Linked DNA regions of Homo sapiens: all the other regions are linked to region 2. The links are contacts of gene promoters, found by promoter capture Hi-C in blood cells and fetal thymus (Javierre and others, 2016). All regions are on one chromosome and are shown on one strand. The core of a region is centred on a gene start or on the middle of the fragment in contact, and the rest is flanking DNA. Distances in the headings are between cores, read along the strand shown.

Region 1 (3,089 bases), core at 101-2,600, 1.4 Mb before region 2:
AATAAATGCATTATTTGGGGGGTTACAAAATAAAATCCCAAAAGAGGAGAAGATAATTAACTTTCTTATGAGAGGTTACCTAATTTTGACTGAGTTGAAAGGAAGAAAAATTAAAGGATTTTAAAGGATTGAATCTCTCTTTCTGTCTCATTTGCTTTCTCTCTTTTTAAAATGAAATGGTTGGCAGAGTTGGAATTTTGGAAAATAGGGTCATGAATATTTGTTGATGAAAACAGTCATGCTTAGTAGCTTTGAGGGGACTCCCTATAGACAGACTTGATTCCTAGTTCTAGTTTTCACAGCTGGTTGCAGTTGTTTGGATGACGATAAGAATCAGGGATACTTGGTTCTGTATTTGGAAAAAATGAAACCAGACTGCTTAAAAATTTGACTGGAAAAAGGCTACTGGGTATGGGGTTCTTTTGGACTATGCTGACTGCTTAACAAGGGATCCTGGTTTGTCTTGTGTCACATTAAAATCCCATGTCTCATTGAAATAGTGGTTAAATGAGGTTGCATGAGTTTTCAGTTGAGAACTAAAAAATAACATATTTTGTTTACATAATGCTAGTTTTTGCTTTATTCTTATGTTTATATTAGAAATGAGTAATTTAGTCCCAGAGAAATTACACGTGGGGCTTTCTGCCAAGACCCAGTGCCAAACATGAGTTTTGTGATTAAAGTATCCAATATTAACCTTTGCTTGACAAAAACCAAGATAAGATGATTTTTTAAAAAAACTTAGATGATCTGAAAAGAAAGCATTATAACAAAAATGTATGAGCTAGGAAAAGCTGAGAGTTACTAAATTGGGCTTTGAATGGTGTAGATGTAACTTTGTGTAAAAATACATGAGTTTCATTTCTCTTGGTATTGGAGGAATACAGATAAAGATGATTGAGATTAATACTAAGCCTCCTTATTTATTGTTTTATTTGATTAGTTCCCTTGGGTGGTGGGATTTACTGTGAGGCAGATACTTTGTTTCATTCTTGTTTTTCATCTTTGGGCTTCATATTCAAATGCCACGTACCTGTAGAATGTTAGCTACAGAAAATTTTTTTAAAGGTGATATTCATTTATTAATTCAACAAATGTTTCTTGAGCACCTACTCTGAGCCAGGTACTATACCAGGCATTGTCATTGTCTTCTGGGAGTGCGCAGTCTTGAGGACGCAATAGACCTATGGATAAGTAATTACAGTACAGCAGAATCAGTGCTATAATAAAAGCAGAGTGGGGAATTATAAACCTTGCCCTAGAAAGGAACCCTTCACAAAGAAGACGATGTAACCTGTTTAAGGATTGATATGGTTTGGCTCTGTCCCCACCCAAATCTCATCTTGAATTGTAACTCCCACAATTCCCATGTGTGGTAGGAGGAACCTAGTGGGAAGTAATTGAATCATGGGAGTGAGTCTTTCCCATGCTGTTCTCATGATAGTGAATAAATCTCACGAGATCTGATGGCTTTAAAAATGGTACTTTCCCTGCATAAGCTCTCTCTGCCTGCTGCCATCCATGTAAGATGTGACTTGCTTCTCCTTGCCTTCCACCATGATTGTGAGGCCTCCCCAGCCATGTGGAACTGTTAGTCCATTAAACCTCTTTCTTTTGTACATTGCCCAGTCTTGGGTATATCTTTATCAGCAACGTGAGAATGGACTAATATAAGGATGAATAGGCATTTGGTAGGTAGAGAAGATTACCCTAGGCATAGGGAAGAATCTTCACAGAGCTGTGAACTCAGGCTGTTCCAGACAAGAGTGAGCACATCACATGAGGCTGAAGGGTTGGAGAAGGACTAGAGTGAAAGAGTATGGAAGCACAACTGGGCTATAGCACAACATTTTATAGGATGTTACTGAGCATGGACTTCATTTTCTAGGCACTGGGAAACTATTGGGAGCTTATAGGTAACAAATGACTCAGATTGGTTTTAAGATGATTCTGTTGGTGGTATAGAAAATGTATTGCAAGCAGGGAAATGTTTTAAGGAGGCTGTTGGAAATGGTACAGGCAAAAGGGGATGAAGATGTCATCTAAAGCAGTGACTTTGGGGTTGAGGAGGTGGCAGAGGTTTTGAGTGAGGGTGAAGAGGCAGAATGGGTTGACAGCTGATTAGAGAGGACGGGAAATGTAGAGGAGAGTCCTGAGGTTCCTAGTGTAGGCAGCTGAGTGGAGCATGAGGCCAGATATGGAGTCAGCCAGTTTTACCAGTCGAAGCAGCATATTTCAGGTGGCAGTGGGATAGGGTGGGTGTAGAATCACGGGTTTTTCTTTTGGACCTATAACTAAGCTATATTTTAGCTTGTGGACATGCAGTTCTTATTATATGGAGTGAGCTGAGTCATAGCAAGTGCTGTGAGTTTTGATTTTAGCTGGCCTCTAATTAGGCAGAACAGGAAAACTCTATTTTAGTTGTTGGATTAAATATTTTTCCACCTCATGATCTAGAGGTAGAGGTCTCTGACTTTAAAAATAGCTATTTACTAGCCAGGCATGGTGGCTCCCACCTGTAATCTCAGCTACTTGGAAGGCCAAGGCCAGAGGATCATTTGAGTTTCAGGAGCTTGAGAAAAGCCTGGGTGAAATAATGATGTAGTGAGATCCCATCTCAAAAACAAAAACAAAAACAAAAACAAAAACAAAAACACTGATTTACTGAGTGATAGCTCTGTACCTGATGCTGTGCTTAAGAGGTACTGTGTTACTAGTTACTAGTTACTAGTATTTTACAAGGGAGAAAAAGGGTACTTATAGAGGTTTATGAATTTGTCAAAAGTGGTGAAGATGGGAGCAAGACAGTTCTGTATTATATGTAAGCATTTTGTTATATGTGAGTTTTGAAAAAAGGTAACTTTTGTAAGAAAGCAGGTGAAAAAATGAAAAGATTCTATTTTAACTTCAGCAGAGAAGTGGTTAGGTGCTTTGCTTCTTATTTGGTGATCTAGGTTGATTATTATAACTTTTCTGACCATATGGGGGAAAATAAAGCTTGATTTACAATGCTGAGAATTTGTACTACCTAATAACTCACTAACTTTTCAGGAAAGGATATAGTTTGAGTAGCTTTCAGAATTATAAAG
Region 2 (3,047 bases), core at 143-2,642:
GCCGAGAAGTTTTGGTTCAATAATAGAATTGAGAAACACAGGACTTCTCATAAGTGGGATATCTTCAGTAAGAAATACAAATTGACAATATTTCATTTCAGTTCACTATAATCATTCAAGAATATGAGCAGCCCCTTCCCTACTGCTTGAAGGAACCCTTATGTAGATAAACTTCCAAAAGCAGAAAATGAATAAATTGGCAGATTTTAATCTATTATCTGGCTACTAAGTATTGAGAAATAGAGCTACAAAGGGAAATATGATTTATAGGAGTGAAAACACTTTGAAATTGTCCTATTAATTAATAGGAATGTTTAATTTTGTTCATAAAAGTTCAACATGTGGTTGGGCATGGTGGCTCATGCCTGTAATCCCAGCACTTTGGGAGGCCAAGGAGGAAGGATTGCTTGCCTCCAGGAGTTCGAGACCAGCCTGGGCAACACAGTGAAACCCTGTCTCTACAAAAAAAAAAAAAATGTAAAAAAATTAGCCAGGTGAGTGGCACACGGCCGTGGTCCCTGTTATTCAAGAGGCTGAGACTGGAGGTTCACTTGACTCCAGGAGGTTGAGGCTGTAGTGAGCTGTAATCATGCCACTGCACTCTGGCCTGGGTGATGAAGTTAGACCCTGCCTCAGAAAAAAAAAAAAATTCAATGTGCATTTTTAGGAATGCACCTGTTGCTAAAAGTGTTGTGTGACTATTGAGCAATAAAGCAATACTTGGACATTCCCGAGTCAGATTACAACATGCTGTAAGGTAAGGGATTAATGTTATTTTAAAGTTGGCAAGCAATGTCCCCCATGCCTTGTGGGGATGTTGATGTCAGGTATTATAATCTACTTCTAAAGGATGAGTTTTGAACTTTACCAAAACTATTAAGTTGGGAGGTACGAAAGTTGGGGACACAGGAGGATTCTCTACATTTCAAAATGGCCCCATCTACTGGTAACATTACACACTTTATATCACTCCCAGAAACATCACTTTGGCTTTATCCTGAAGTTTAGGGATCTCTAAGAGCCCACCACTCCCCAAATCTGCTGAGATTGACAGCAGAGAGGAAAGCCTGATCCGCAGCAGTAACTCTTCTCTCCTCCACTCCACCATGGGCAGACAACTTCCATCACTACCTCTTGTATACTTCCTAACAGTTTTCCATCCCTTAGGGACCCCCAGTTGAGCTCAAGGCTAAAAGGAAAATGAAAATAGTCTTTCTTCTGTGCTAGCGGAAAGAGCGACACTTACCTTCTGATTCGCCGCAGAGGTGGAGTAGCAGCACTGACATCAAAGCAGCCAGGAGCAAACTCTTGGTACAGCACATGGTTTTTAGCTCAAAGAACAGATCTGCTCAGTGTTGAGTACCCAGTTCTTTGGGAGTGCTGTTATATTCTGACAGCAGCCTGGGATGGCCCTATTTATAGCAAATATTGGGAATGTACACAGAAGGCGTGTTGCCACATGGGGTTTTCCCCATTGATCAACTGGCCCCATCATGTCATCATAAAAAAAACCCGCAAGGAAAACTTCCTGCTTTTTCCTCATATTGGGAAGGTGCGAAGGTCAGGGTGGGGGACAGGAAGTTGAGAAGGGGAGAATCCTGTTAAATTCTTTGTATTTGCAAAGAGCAAAAGCAGCTCAGCCCTGTGACCCAGAAAAGACTTTCATCCAGTTTTAACTTAATCATTTTTGTGTCTGAAAATAGAGGATTAACAGCGATACAAAGGTCAGCCCCACACAGGAACATTCCAGAACTCCTATTGTTACACCCTATTTGCTTTCCAGAACCAGTCAAGGAGGAGGGGGAGGAGGAGCAGGTGGGATGCCAGGCATACTCTGCTACACATTTACCATCACATGGTTGAGGTTCAGCTGTCATGAAGAAGACCCTGAGTTGCTAGACTAACATTCAGAGCAGGTACTATAACAGTGCTACAGTACTGTCCGCAGTTAGAGTGGAAAATATCAGCCTTTAAGTAAGGCTCAAACCTCAGCTTCACCTTGATTTAATGTCAACTCTTCTAAGAATCTTATACATTCACATGGCTTTAATCAATATTGCAGTTCAGAAAATAATCCTTACCTACCTTTAACTCTCCATGATGATGTACTAATATAACTCAATATAGAGCCTCAGAATTGTTGAGGAAAGAAAACCTATCAGCAGTAGCTAGTCAGCACAGCAAATGTCAAATAACAGTACTAATGATGATAATGTAATATGAATCCCTAACCTAAGGCAGTATAAGAACTCTCCACTAGACCCAAATAGGTTGAAAGTAAAAGGATCAAAAGAAAGGTATACCAAACAGTAAACAAAAGAGAACTGGAGTTGGTGATGCCTATATCAGACAAAATAGATTTTTTTTTAATGTTACCGGAAATAAAAAGGGACTTTCATGGTAACACAAAATTAACCCATTGGGAAGATGTAAAACCTATAACCATATATATACCTAACAGTAGCACCCCAAACTACAGAAAGCAAAAACTGACAGAATTGAAGGGAAGAATAGGAAATTTTATTTTATTTTATTATTATAATTTCTTTTGAGACAGAATTTTGCTCTTGTTGCCCAGGCTGGAGTGCAGTGGCACCATCTCGGCTCACTACAACCTCCGCCTCCTGGGTTCAAGCGATTCGCCTGCCTCAGCCTCCTGAGTAGCTGGGACTACAGGCACGTGCCACCACGCCCAGCGAATTTTTGTATTTTTAGTAGAGACGTGGTTTCACCATGTTGCCCAGGCTGAACTCCTGACCTCATTACAGGCATGAGCCACCGTGCCCAGCAGAATAGGAAATTTAACAATAAAAGTTGACAGCTTTGGTACCACATTTTCACTAATTAATAAAATTTAGGCAGAAGATCCACAAGAAAATAGAAGACTTGAACAACACTATAAGCCAAATAGACTTAGCAGGCATCGAAGGACTACTCTATCCAACATCAACAGAATAGTTGCACATGGAATGTTCTCTAGGATAAAGCATATGGTAGGTTATGGAACAAGTCTCAGTAAATGTAAACCGACTGAAATCACATAAAGT
Region 3 (2,906 bases), core at 184-2,683, 1.5 Mb before region 2:
ATCACTTGCTTTAATTAAACTTGAGATCTAGTATTTATCTAACCAGAGTCCTTTCTCTCTGATTTCAGGTTTGGAAAGAAATCCCGGCCTGCAATGTATGATGTGAGCCCCATCGCCTATGAAGATTACAGTCCTGATGACAAACCCTTGGTCACACTGATTAAAACTAAAGATTTGTAATCTTTTTTTGGATTATTTTTCAAAAAGATGAGATACTACACTCATTTAAATATTTTTAAGAAAATAAAAAGCTTAAGAAATTTAAAATGCTAGCTGCTCAAGAGTTTTCAGTAGAATATTTAAGAACTAATTTTCTGCAGCTTTTAGTTTGGAAAAAATATTTTAAAAACAAAATTTGTGAAACCTATAGACGATGTTTTAATGTACCTTCAGCTCTCTAAACTGTGTGCTTCTACTAGTGTGTGCTCTTTTCACTGTAGACACTATCACGAGACCCAGATTAATTTCTGTGGTTGTTACAGAATAAGTCTAATCAAGGAGAAGTTTCTGTTTGACGTTTGAGTGCCGGCTTTCTGAGTAGAGTTAGGAAAACCACGTAACGTAGCATATGATGTATAATAGAGTATACCCGTTACTTAAAAAGAAGTCTGAAATGTTCGTTTTGTGGAAAAGAAACTAGTTAAATTTACTATTCCTAACCCGAATGAAATTAGCCTTTGCCTTATTCTGTGCATGGGTAAGTAACTTATTTCTGCACTGTTTTGTTGAACTTTGTGGAAACATTCTTTCGAGTTTGTTTTTGTCATTTTCGTAACAGTCGTCGAACTAGGCCTCAAAAACATACGTAACGAAAAGGCCTAGCGAGGCAAATTCTGATTGATTTGAATCTATATTTTTCTTTAAAAAGTCAAGGGTTCTATATTGTGAGTAAATTAAATTTACATTTGAGTTGTTTGTTGCTAAGAGGTAGTAAATGTAAGAGAGTACTGGTTCCTTCAGTAGTGAGTATTTCTCATAGTGCAGCTTTATTTATCTCCAGGATGTTTTTGTGGCTGTATTTGATTGATATGTGCTTCTTCTGATTCTTGCTAATTTCCAACCATATTGAATAAATGTGATCAAGTCAAGGATGCAGTTGTCTCTTTTGTTCTTTGAAAACTATATATAAAAAGTTTTGGATGTGATATTGTTTGCCAAACAATCCCATGGTTGATACCATATTAAATAACCTGAGGAGTGCACCTCTGTGGCTGCCGGAGCCCCCTCCTTTGCCTCTGCAAGGCTTTCTGACCTCCTAATTGTCAGTAAGCTCACCCTAGCTGCTTGTCAGTGTGAAGTGTGGAAAAAAAATAAGAATTCTTATCTGAAGTTTTATATCCGAATTTGCCAGTGAAATGCAGCACAAGTGAACGGTGGGCACACTGGAATCCGGAGATGCTTCCAGGCATTGAGGGCAGGCACCTGTGGCCTCAAGAAATACCTTGCGTGCTGCTATCCTGTGGAGGCGCTGCTATCCTGTGGAGGCTAAATGAAATTGCCTTAGCAAATAGCTCCATGGTTCTTAGAAACTTGAAGGCCGTTTAGAGCCACCCTATATTCAGTTCCATTTTGTATCCAAATGCTGCTCTGAAGTCCCAGAGTTATTTTTAAAAATGCATTTTTAACTGTACACAGGAACGTCAGGTAAGGCCAAGAGGAGTCCTGGAACCAGGTGTGAGGGAGAGTTTTAAGCAAAAAGAATTATTTAAGGTTCTTTTCCTTCCCGCTCTACCCTCAAAACATCTGTTCCTAATCCTACAAATGACACAGCAGTACACCCACATTCTGATTATTAAATGATACAGTGCAATACATTAATATTTTCAGTTAAGTGGAAGTAAGGTAAGTACAAAATATTAACTTGGTTGGTTAAACAGTCATGGGAACATGCAGCAGAGTGTTGTGCAGACATACTTACTCCCATCTTCCTATAAAAGACCCTTTGGTTGTGTGTTGCTCAGACACTTCTTGATCGATGATAGGAGAGGGCCATGAAAAGGTGTGAGTTGTACTCCATTTGCCTCTTGACCCCCACGAGCACCTGGACATTGTCTGAGCCTCCGTGTCTTTTTTGCTTATTGGTCTTCATTTGCAAGCTGCTTCAATCACACCCTCTGAAATCATTTTCAATCTCCCAAAGTCTTAAATTCATTATATGCGATGTCTCTTAAAGGACTTGTTTAAAAAACTAAAGTCTTTTATCAATCACAGTTTGTCCCTTGAAAGCCAATTAATGGAGCTTGCAAATTCAGATCTTGGGCAGAGCCTTCTGACCATCTGAGAGTGGCCACCAAATATATCTAAAGACATTTGCTCATTCATTTGGACATTCAATGATAAGAATTCATCTCATCGAGCACTTATTCTTTGTCAGGCAGATGCTGACCGACAAGAGCCCTACCAGAGGATCCTGCCTCCCGAGCTTATAGCTTGTTTTGAACCAGACCTTCATCTAACAAACAAATAAATATAGAATTACACTTCATAGAGCACCATGAAGGAAAGGTAAACTCCACTATAGGGCAGCTTATTTGTAGCAGAGTAGATTAAAACCTTACTTCAATTGTTTACTTGGTAATGACTTTGGACAAGTAGCTCTCTGGGTCTAAGCTTCAAAATTTGAAAAATGGGGATCATGATAGGGCCTCCCTTGAAGAATCGTTGTGAGCATTGGATGCCAGACTGTGTGTGTATCACTTAGCCTCCCTCCAGCGCCCACCAAGATTCAGCACGTTAGCTATTGTTGTTGTTGCTGCTGTTCTTGTTTTACATTCAGACATGATCACAAAGTAGGATAGTACCCTCGCTTTTATGATTAATGATTGGGATCTGCAGTTAGTACATTGTGATATGTGTGAGGAATAGTCCTTCTAGAGCAGGGAGCACATTCTCTAAGGGTGTCAAAA
Region 4 (3,134 bases), core at 241-2,740, 1.5 Mb before region 2:
GCCGAGGAGCTTTATTTTAACTATCTGGCTCATTTGCATCCTGTAACCACTTTTATCCGCATTTTAGAGAGAAACTGAAGGCCAGAGAGTCGAAGTGATTTGGCCAGCGTTGAGCAGCTAGAAATGAACTGAGCTGGAGTTTGAACCAGACAGTTTGGTTCCAATCCTTACTTCTTAAGCACTTCACCATAGTGCAGAAGGATAAGACAGGCACAGTGCAATGTACATGTTGGTGCTGTTGTTATTAATAAATACAGTTAGAGCAATGACTGTTTTGTGGGCTCAGAGAGGCTGCTGTCCTATTTCTTGCTGAAGCAGTGGGTTGACCAAAGGCTACTCTGTTTTTGGTGGCTCAAATCTTTGGTGGCACATAAGCTGCTGTCTCCTATTGAAGTTAAAATTCACAAGTGCCATTGAAGAGCTTTTCAGCTGAAGCACATAGCATTTATCCAAACTAGAGACCTTGAAAGCCGGTGATTAGGGTGGATTGTGTACACATTCATTCCAAGTTTAGACAAAAAAAAAATGGGGAGAAGGAGGGAGGAGGTTGGAGATTTTCAGAGCGGTTGCTTAGAAAAAAGCAACAGCTATTATTACAGAGGCACAGGTTTCTCACTAAACCCATTCTAGATTTTGTTGTTGTTTTCATCAATTGTAGTTGAGTAAGCACAAAACATCGGGCCCTATTGTTCATAAAGAAAACTAGGAGTTGTCATTAATCCGGGGCCTTAGTCTCCCTCAGGAATAAAATGCTATCTTACATCATTGAGTCTTTCTCCAAGTTTGTCAGCAAATCTCTTTCAAGCGATTTGCAAAATCCTAGCCTGGGAACAAACTCTGTGCCCCTTGCTTAACCATGGCCTAATGGCTGTTTCGTGTTGACTGTACTGAGTTATCTTGGAGTGTTAGGCAACTTTTGCATTTTGTTTGATGTTCCAGATTAGGTCCCTCCCATACCAATACCCCTCCACACTGACCCCATTCTACCATGAAAATTAGCCTTGGAGGAGACTCTGGGAGAATCAGCCTTACAGCTTCAAGGGTACTGGAGATCAGGCTGCCTTCTACAAGGTATTTTATTCTGTGAATAGCAGCAGTTCAGGGACTTGTTAGTGGTCAGGAAATAAAACTAGTCCAGAACACTCAATGACTGCAGTGTGCTTCTTTCAGCCCTGTGGACACAAATTTAAACAGAGGCTTTATATAAGTAGAGCAAGAAGAAATAGTTGAGTCGTTTGTCCAAAGACCTCCTTAAAGTCTAGTGGAATTAGTCTACTGTCATTTTGTGTTCACTTAAAAAAAAAGTTGTGATCCCTATTTAGCTGCTAATCAGTGATAAAGCATCAGTGTATTCACCAGGTCCAACCCTTGAGGCCAAAGACTGCAAAAGGAAGGTGTCAGGGAAAAGACACAGACTTGTTTTGTGACTGGCATATTTCAATGCTTCCAGCATCTTGACATGCTCTTCCACTTAATGCTGATGCCACGTGGATCAATAATCTGGCTGAGGTCTTCTTTCCCATGCCTGATGGCCCAGGATTCCTCTGCCCTCTTATGTTTCAACCGAGTTCTTACTTTGATAAGGGAGGCTCCAGTAATGGCCTTCTTAGCCAGGTTGTTTCCTGAATAAGAAATCATTTGGGTAAAAAAAAAATAACGAAAAAAAAGCATATCTGTCTCTTTATAAATAATTTTGACACAATCGCTTACTAGCAATGTTTCAGTTTTGTAACTTCTCTGAGCTTTGCTTTCCCTATCTGTAAAATAGAGAGATGTGCTTTGCAGAGATTTTGGTATGTAGCGTATAGTAGGTGCTCAATAAACAGAAGCACTTCTTAATGTTGTTATGGTTGGTCACTGTAGGAATGGAGTGTTGAGTTTAGATCTAAGCTCCTGTCTTCTCTTCTGTCCATCTTTCTTGTCCATCTACTACGTCCCAAGTACTATGCTGGGTGTGGGTGAAGGGTGAGAAGAAGGGCATAGTTGTAAACTTAGAGGACTCACGGTCCTATTCCTTATTGTTCAAAGTTGGACTTAATATATATTTCCTAGTATGATTGTAACTTTCAGTGTTTCTGTTCATATGAAGAAGATCCCTAGCTAGCTCAGCTTTATAAGCCAGAACCAGTATGTTAATGACCTGCTCACTGTCCACTTGTCTCTGTCTCCTCACTTGGGGAAGCTCCTTTTATTCTCAATGTATAGGAAAGTGCGACGCACAGAATGCAATTGTCTTTACAGTTGGGGGTGAAGATGATGGAGGTTCATATATGATAGTGGGTGTTAGGGTATGGGTGAGCTGGGCTGGGACTTGGGGGCCACATACCTTGTGGCCCTTGATCACTTGGGTCCCTGTTTTAGAGAGGCCTGGGTGTGACTATCCTGAAAATGGTCTGAGTTGACATACCTCTTATATCTCCTTTAGTTTCTGCCAGGCGGTGGTCTCCAGGTCAGGATGAAGTGTTAGTTCTCTCATGTTATAAATGTAGTAAGGGAAGTCGTGCTGAAGTTGACTATTGGGAAATTTCATGTATACTACTGAGTTGAGAGTCCACTCCTCCAAAAGAAATTTTAGATAAGTGAAGCCGTTCTAGAAGCCATCAAATGCATGTTTGCTCCCAACTATCCACAGCTAGAAGGTTATATAGCGTGGCAAGTATTCTCAAACAGGGCACAGAGAAGGGGTGCTGTGGTCAGGGTCCCAGAAGCAACATTTCCTTCCACTCCAGCAGTGCTGCTAGCAGACTCTCATTTAATTGGGTTTTATTGGTGATTTTTACTTTTCCAGCCATACTCATTTCCAAGTATGGAGAAAATCAAGAAATGTCAGCTACCATTCATTGCAGGCTTATTTAGTAGTAGTGTCAGTAATAATAACAATAGCAGCCACCTTTTTCTTAGTATTTACTGTGTTCCCAGCACTGACCTGTCCTCCCAACAGCCTTTGGCAGTAGAGCTGGGGTTCATAGCCAGCAGACTGGTTGTAGGGTCTGCACTCCTAAGCACTGTGCCTCTTGTGTCATGGAGCAGACATTTTGTTTTATATGAAAAGCATATTTAATCCTTGAGAAAATTCTAAGGGACAGAGATTTTGTTGTCTCATTTTTCTGGATGATGTAACAATTCTCCAGAGA
Region 5 (2,894 bases), core at 133-2,632, 1.6 Mb before region 2:
CAGTTTATCAGAAAGAAATGTTTAATAGGGACTTACGAAGAGAAGCCTGTCTGTGTCTTGGGCAGTGGGGAAACAAGATGGCGGATCCCCACACCCACACCATTACCCTTCGGACCCAAGGCTTATGATCCACAGAGGGAGAGGTGGTTCAGAAGGGATGTGCAGGACAATCGAAGTACAATAACATCAAGGTTGTTTTGACCGAAGGGCAGGATTTATGGTAAGTATCTGTTCTTGTACAAGGAACAGTACATAAACTGGAATCCTTAGAGGCATTCCTGGAACTGGGGTTAATCAGTATCCAAGATGCAGTTGCTTTCGCTTCTGCACTATGATGTGTGTGTGTGTGGTTTTCTTGTGTTTATCCTGCTTGGGGTTTGTTGCACATCTTGAATCTGTGGTTACAGTTTTCATCAAACTTGGAAATTTTTAGCCATTAATTTATTAAATATTATTTTTGGCCTCATATCCTTTCTCTAGGATTCTGAGTACATCTATGTTAGACTGCTTAAAATTGTCCAATGGGTCAGAGTCTCTGCTTAGTTTTTGTTTTTGTTTTTGTTTTTGTTTTTGTTTTGAGACGGAGTCTCGCTCTGTTGCCCAGGCTGGAGTGCAGTGGCATGAACCCGGCTCACTGCAAGCTCCAACTCCCAGGTTCACGCCATTCTCCTGCCTCAGCCTCCTAAGTAGCTGGGACTACAGGCGCCCGCCACCACGCCTGGCTAATTTTTTGTATTTTTAGTAGAGACGGGGTTTCACCGTGTTAGCCAGGATGGTCTCGATCTCCTGACCTCGTGATCCACCCACCTCAGCCTCCCAAAGTGCTGGGATTACAGGTGTGAGCCACTGTGCTCAGCTTCTACTTAGTTTTTTAAAAAGTCTTTTTTCTTTCTGAGTTTCAGTTTGTCAAGCTTCTATTGTTCTGTTTTCAACTTTACTAATATTTTCTTCTGCAGTGTCTAATCTACTATTTTTTTATTTTTATTTTTATTTTTTTTGAGACGGAGTCTCACTCTGTCACCCAGGCTGGAGTACAGTGGCGTGATCTCAGCTCACTGCAACCTCTGCATCCCTAGTTCAAGATTCTCTTGCCTCAGCCTCCTGAGTAGTTGGGATTATAGGCATGTGCCATCACACCTGGCTAATTTTTGTATTTTTAGTAGAGACGGGGTTTCGCCATGTTGCCCAGGCTAGTCTCGAACTCCTGACCTCAGGTGATCAGCCCGCCTCAGACTCCCAGAGTGCTGGGATTACAGGTGTGAGTCACTAGTCTACTATTAAGACCATTGGGTTCTAAAAACAATTTCAGATATTGTATTTTTCATATCTAAAAGTTCCATTGGGCTTGTTTTTTATTTTCCATGTTTCTGTTCATTGTTTTTTATATTTTATTTCACATTTTGAACACATTTTTTGTCTGCTAGCTCTCATCCATTGTTTCTGAATTTGTGTCTTTTGACTGATTTTCATGCAGTTATGGGTCACGTGAGCCTACTTTGTTGCATGTCTAATAATTTTTGTTTGAATGATGGTCATTGTGGATTAAGTTGTTGAGTGATTGGATTTTATTGTCTTTTTTAAAAAAAGTAATGGACTTTTTTTGTGTCAGGTAAGTAACTTGCTGACCTAATTAATCCTTTCAAGGTTTGTTGTACATTTTGGGGAGGTGAATGTAGAGTAGCCTTACTCTAGGGATAGTTGTGCCCCATTACTAAGGTGTGATCTTTTGTGGCTTCACTGACTGTACTGGGTAATCCATTAAATAGTTCCACTCTGGCAGTGCAAATCTGAATATTTCTCAGTCCTCTGTGAGTTTGGGAACTGCTCATCTGTCATTTTGTTTGCCAAGCTTCAAGTTACACACACACACGTCTTCAGCAACAGCCTACGGGATGCAGCAGATTTCTGGTGCTCAATTTCTGAGTGGTTCTATCTTGTGTTGTGGTCTTTCCTACAAATTACAGCTACCTTGGCCTCCACACACTCTGATCTTTGTCTCCTCAAGCCAGTGAAACCACTGTGTTCTAAATTAATTCCAGGAAGAAAGCCAGAATGATTGTGGTGCTCAGCTGTTTTATTTCCCTTCTTGCAGCAATCACAGTCATGGACTTCCTGTTGTCCAATGTCTTCATAGTTTTTTTTTTTTTTCATATATTTCATCTAGTTGTCTAGTTGTTTACAGTGGGAAGGCAAGACAGGTGCCAGTTATTCCATCATGATAAAAAAAAGTTAGAAATAATTTTTAAAACTCACTTTATCTTGAATAAACTCTTAGTGAAGTATATGAAAGATTTATAGTCAAAGCACCCAATCAGTGCCTGGCATGTAGGAGGCATATATTTAATACTAGATATTATGATTATAGTAATTGTCATCAATATCTTTTAGTGGGGACTCTGTTAACCCAAGGATTTACTAACAGCGGTGACTTTGGATGGTTTTGTCTTTTTGCATTTCTTAATTTACCCAAGGAAAGCAAGCAGAATCAGTATGCTTGTAAATCTACATAAGTACTACCAAATGTGATACCCACTGTACTTACATATTGCCTCACAGAAGGTAGTACATTGAAAAAAAATTTGGCTGGGCATGGTGGCTCATGCCTGTAATCCTAGCACTTTGGGAGGGTGAGGTGGGCAGATCACCTGAGGTCAGGAGTTCAAGATCAGCCTGGGCAACATGGTGAAACCCCGTCTCTACTAAAAATACAAAAAATTCACTGGGCATGGTGGCACACGCCTGTAATCCCAGCTACTGGGGAGGCTGAGGCAGGAGAATCGCTTGAACCTGGGAGGCGGAGGTTGCAGTGAGCCGAGATTGTGCCACTGCACTCAAGCCTGGGTGATAGAGTGAGATTTTTGTCTCAAAAAAAAAGAAAAAAGAAAAAAGAATTA
Region 6 (3,121 bases), core at 434-2,933, 1.6 Mb before region 2:
CAGCTGTACCATTTTACCTTCCTACCAACAGTGCACAAAGGTTCCAATTTCTTCAAATCTGCCCCAACACTTGTTATTTTCTGTTTTTGTTTGTTTTGTTTTGTTTTTTATAATGGCCATCCTAATGGGTGTGAAGTGATATTTTGTTATGATTTTAATTTGCATTTCCCTGATTTTTAGTGATGTTGATTAGTGATGTTATTTTCATATGCCTGTTGGCCATTTGTATTATTTTGTACCTTACATAACTGCCAACTCAAAATGGACTAAAAGCTTAGATGTAAGGCCTGGAAGTATAAAACTTCTAGAAGAAAACGTAGGGGAAAAACTTCATAACATTGGCCTTAGGAATGACTTCTTGGATATGATATCCGAGGTACAGGCAACAAAAGCACAAATATACAAGTGGTGCTTCAAACTTAAAAGGTTCTGCATAACAAAGGAACAATCAACAGCATGAAAAGGTGACCTATGGAATGGCAGAAAATATTTGCAAACAATACATTTGATAAGGGGTTAATATCCAAAACTCTTGTTAAAAGAAAGATCTTTCATTGAATCTAAATCAAGAATCAGCAAACTTGTTCTGCGCAAAGGGCCAGACAGTAAATATTTAGGCTTTGCAGGCCATATGGTCTCTGTTGCAACCACTCAGTCCTCTGTTGTAGTGTTAAAACGGCCATAGACAATATGTAAATGCATGACTGTGGCTGTGTCCCAATAAAACTTTATTTGCAAAAACAGGCTGGGATAGATTTCATCTGTGGGCCATAGTTTGCTGACCCCTGGTCTAGAACAGAGTTTCTCAACCTGGCTGTATTGTTATTTTTTTCTGGATAGTCTTGTTGTGAGAGGCTGTCCTGCGCAGCCTCCTGTAGAACTGTAGGATGCTTAGCAGCACTCTTGACTCTGCCTACTAGATGCCAGCAGCAACCCCTCCCCCTGCCTCCAGTTGTGACAACGAAAAATGTCTCCAAACATTTTCAAATGTCCTTTGGGGGACAAAATTGCTGCTAGTTGAGTACCTCTTATCTACATGATGAAAATAATCTAATGAAGGGTAATAGAAATATTTCCCTAAAGTTACAAAAAGTAGGGTAACATACTACTTTTCAGAAGAATTGAAAACTATAGTATATTTGTCTTAGGTAGGTCAAGGGCTCCTCAAAGGGGCCATTATCACAACCTAAATTTGGAAAGCTGTTCAAAAACAACTGAAATGGCAACATATTTGAAAAGTGCTCTGTTAATAATGCAAATATGAGCTTAACCTACTTTTATGATAGGCACAAGAAACAAAGCAGTTCAACATATTAGCATGTTCTAATGGGACTTTCTGAGTTTGAGAGTTGGTTGTGAGCTGGAAAGGCTAGGGAAAAGCTAGTAGTTCTAATTCCTACTTGGATAAGGGCTTATTTTTTCTGCTTATCTGAATTCAGAACGAACACAGTCAGTGTGACTTTTGAAAACACTCACATGTTTTTCATTGTTTGGACAGGGCTGGACAAAAATGGCCTGGTTTCACTGCAAATTGGCAGTAACACATGTTTTCAAAAGTTGAAAACAGCATAACCCTCATGAATGAATCTCAAAGAATGTTGTCTTCTTGTCCTTTAGAATAAACACCTGTTTTGCAAATAGGAGGGTAAAATCCACTTTATCAAGAAATTGTGGGTTTATTTTCTCTTCACTCACATGATTATTTCTTTAGTAATTTAAACATTTAGGTACAATTTAAAATATTATAATTTATATAATCATATCTTTAAACAAGCAATAACAACAAAAATACCCTCACATTTCATCAATAATTTCAGTTAAGCATTTTGAGCTAATTTTCTTTTCTGACTTGAAAAGGAAATACAGATATACTTTTCTAATGTGGCTCTCACACTTTTTGTTTTCTTTTGTTTTTTTTTTGAGATGGAGTTTTGCTCTTGTCGCCCAGGCTGGAGTGCAGTGGTACAATCTTGGCTCACTGCAACCTCTGCCTCCCAGGTTCAAGTGATTCTCCTGCCTCAGCCTACTGAGTAGCTGGGATTACAGGCGCCCGCCACCACGCCTGGCTAATTTTTTGTATTTTTAGTAGAGACAGAGTTTCACCATGTTGGCCAGGCTGGTCTCGAACTCCTGAGCTCAAGTGATCAACCTGCCTCGGTATCCCAAAGTGCTGGGATTACCAGCACTTTGTGGTGGCATGAGCCACCACACCGAGCCAGGTTCTCACTCTTGAAGGGAGCTGTTTGCTCCTCCCCTGCCGTAAATCCTGCTCATTCACTATCTCTGATGGCCACAGCAGACACACTCAGTGACTGGATCACCCTAACACCAGCACTGTTGGATGCACTATGATGAAAATGTCAGTGGATAAATGGAATCACTTCTTTTATACTTGGGATCATGAAAAAGTGTGATAAGAACAGGCGCTTTCTTCATAGCCTTCCCCCAAATCCACCTTTCAACTTTACCCCAAGAGATCTAGCTCCTGAAATCCCATCTGTTTATACCATACTTTCTAATGAATACCCCCAACTGCCTTCCTTGCAGGCTGGTCCCGCGTGGGTTGTAAATGGGATGCATTTGACAGTGGGCCTTTCTCTCTGTCCCTCAGGTTACCATGGCCTCTACTGTGAGGAGGAATATAATGAGTGCCTCTCCGCTCCATGCCTGAATGCAGCCACCTGCAGGGACCTCGTTAATGGCTATGAGTGTGTGTGCCTGGCAGAATACAAAGGTGAGAGGCCGCCTGGCCTTCCTGTGCCAGAATGGCTCTAAATGACGTCATGTATTTCTCAGTGTAAATGCATAAACCTCTAATTGGACCATGAATTGTTCAGAATAACAATCAAATGCTGAAGCTGGCATGATTAATCGGTCCAAGGAGACCAATTTGCAAGTCTCTGGTTTCTTCCTGATAGATTGAGAAACAACCCCCTTTCCTGTCCTGTTCTTTGTGGATCCTCGCTTTCTTTTTTATTGAATGTGTAAAAAGCTGAAAACAAAAAGTAATATTAAGATGGACTGTCAGACATAGGTTAGAGACCATGGCTGTGAAAACTGTGGAAGAGGAAGGATGCCGTCCTATAAAGCTTCTTATGCAGAGATAGAATGCTGTGCTTTC

What was found. The method cuts DNA at HindIII sites, captures the fragments that hold promoters and counts their contacts. A CHiCAGO score of 5 or more calls a contact.
Region 1: a fragment that was not itself captured here is called in contact with the fragment with the promoter of CCL20 in region 2 in 2 of 17 cell types (M2 macrophages and M0 macrophages); the score reaches 5.5 in M2 macrophages.
Region 3: a contact is called between a fragment that was not itself captured here and the fragment with the promoter of CCL20 in region 2, in 1 of 17 cell types (M1 macrophages). The highest score is 6.2, in M1 macrophages.
Region 4: a fragment that was not itself captured here is called in contact with the fragment with the promoter of CCL20 in region 2 in 1 of 17 cell types (M0 macrophages); the score reaches 6.4 in M0 macrophages.
Region 5: a contact is called between a fragment that was not itself captured here and the fragment with the promoter of CCL20 in region 2, in 1 of 17 cell types (M2 macrophages). The highest score is 6.0, in M2 macrophages.
Region 6: a contact is called between a fragment that was not itself captured here and the fragment with the promoter of CCL20 in region 2, in 3 of 17 cell types (M2 macrophages, M1 macrophages and M0 macrophages). The highest score is 10.8, in M2 macrophages.

Annotation. Positions count from the first base shown.
Region 1 is chr2:229,241,577-229,244,665 of GRCh38, reverse strand. All of the region lies in intron 1 of PID1 (phosphotyrosine interaction domain containing 1), which reads left to right. Among named protein-coding and RNA genes, the nearest start is that of PID1, 28 kb to the left of the region's middle. The HindIII fragment of the contact is 3,298 bases long and covers 1-2,999 here.
Region 2 is chr2:227,812,187-227,815,233 of GRCh38, reverse strand. It overlaps CCL20 (C-C motif chemokine ligand 20), which reads right to left and starts at 1,392. Exons shown (of 4, transcript NM_004591.3): 1 at 1,247-1,392. The coding sequence starts at 1,322. The HindIII fragment of the contact is 16,817 bases long and covers 1-3,047 here.
Region 3 is chr2:229,355,814-229,358,719 of GRCh38, reverse strand. DNER (delta/notch like EGF repeat containing) reads left to right here. Exons shown (of 13, transcript NM_139072.4): 13 at 69-1,091. The coding sequence ends at 180. Among named protein-coding and RNA genes, the nearest start is that of PID1, 86 kb to the right of the region's middle. The HindIII fragment of the contact is 2,359 bases long and covers 254-2,612 here.
Region 4 is chr2:229,263,663-229,266,796 of GRCh38, reverse strand. The region is part of intron 1 of PID1 (phosphotyrosine interaction domain containing 1); the gene reads left to right. Among named protein-coding and RNA genes, the nearest start is that of PID1, 6.1 kb to the left of the region's middle. The HindIII fragment of the contact is 3,782 bases long and covers 1-3,134 here.
Region 5 is chr2:229,391,530-229,394,423 of GRCh38, reverse strand. All of the region lies in intron 10 of DNER (delta/notch like EGF repeat containing), which reads left to right. Among named protein-coding and RNA genes, the nearest start is that of PID1, 120 kb to the right of the region's middle. The HindIII fragment of the contact is 938 bases long and covers 914-1,851 here.
Region 6 is chr2:229,417,721-229,420,841 of GRCh38, reverse strand. DNER (delta/notch like EGF repeat containing) reads left to right here. Exons shown (of 13, transcript NM_139072.4): 9 at 2,612-2,734. Among named protein-coding and RNA genes, the nearest start is that of PID1, 150 kb to the right of the region's middle. The HindIII fragment of the contact is 2,816 bases long and covers 276-3,091 here.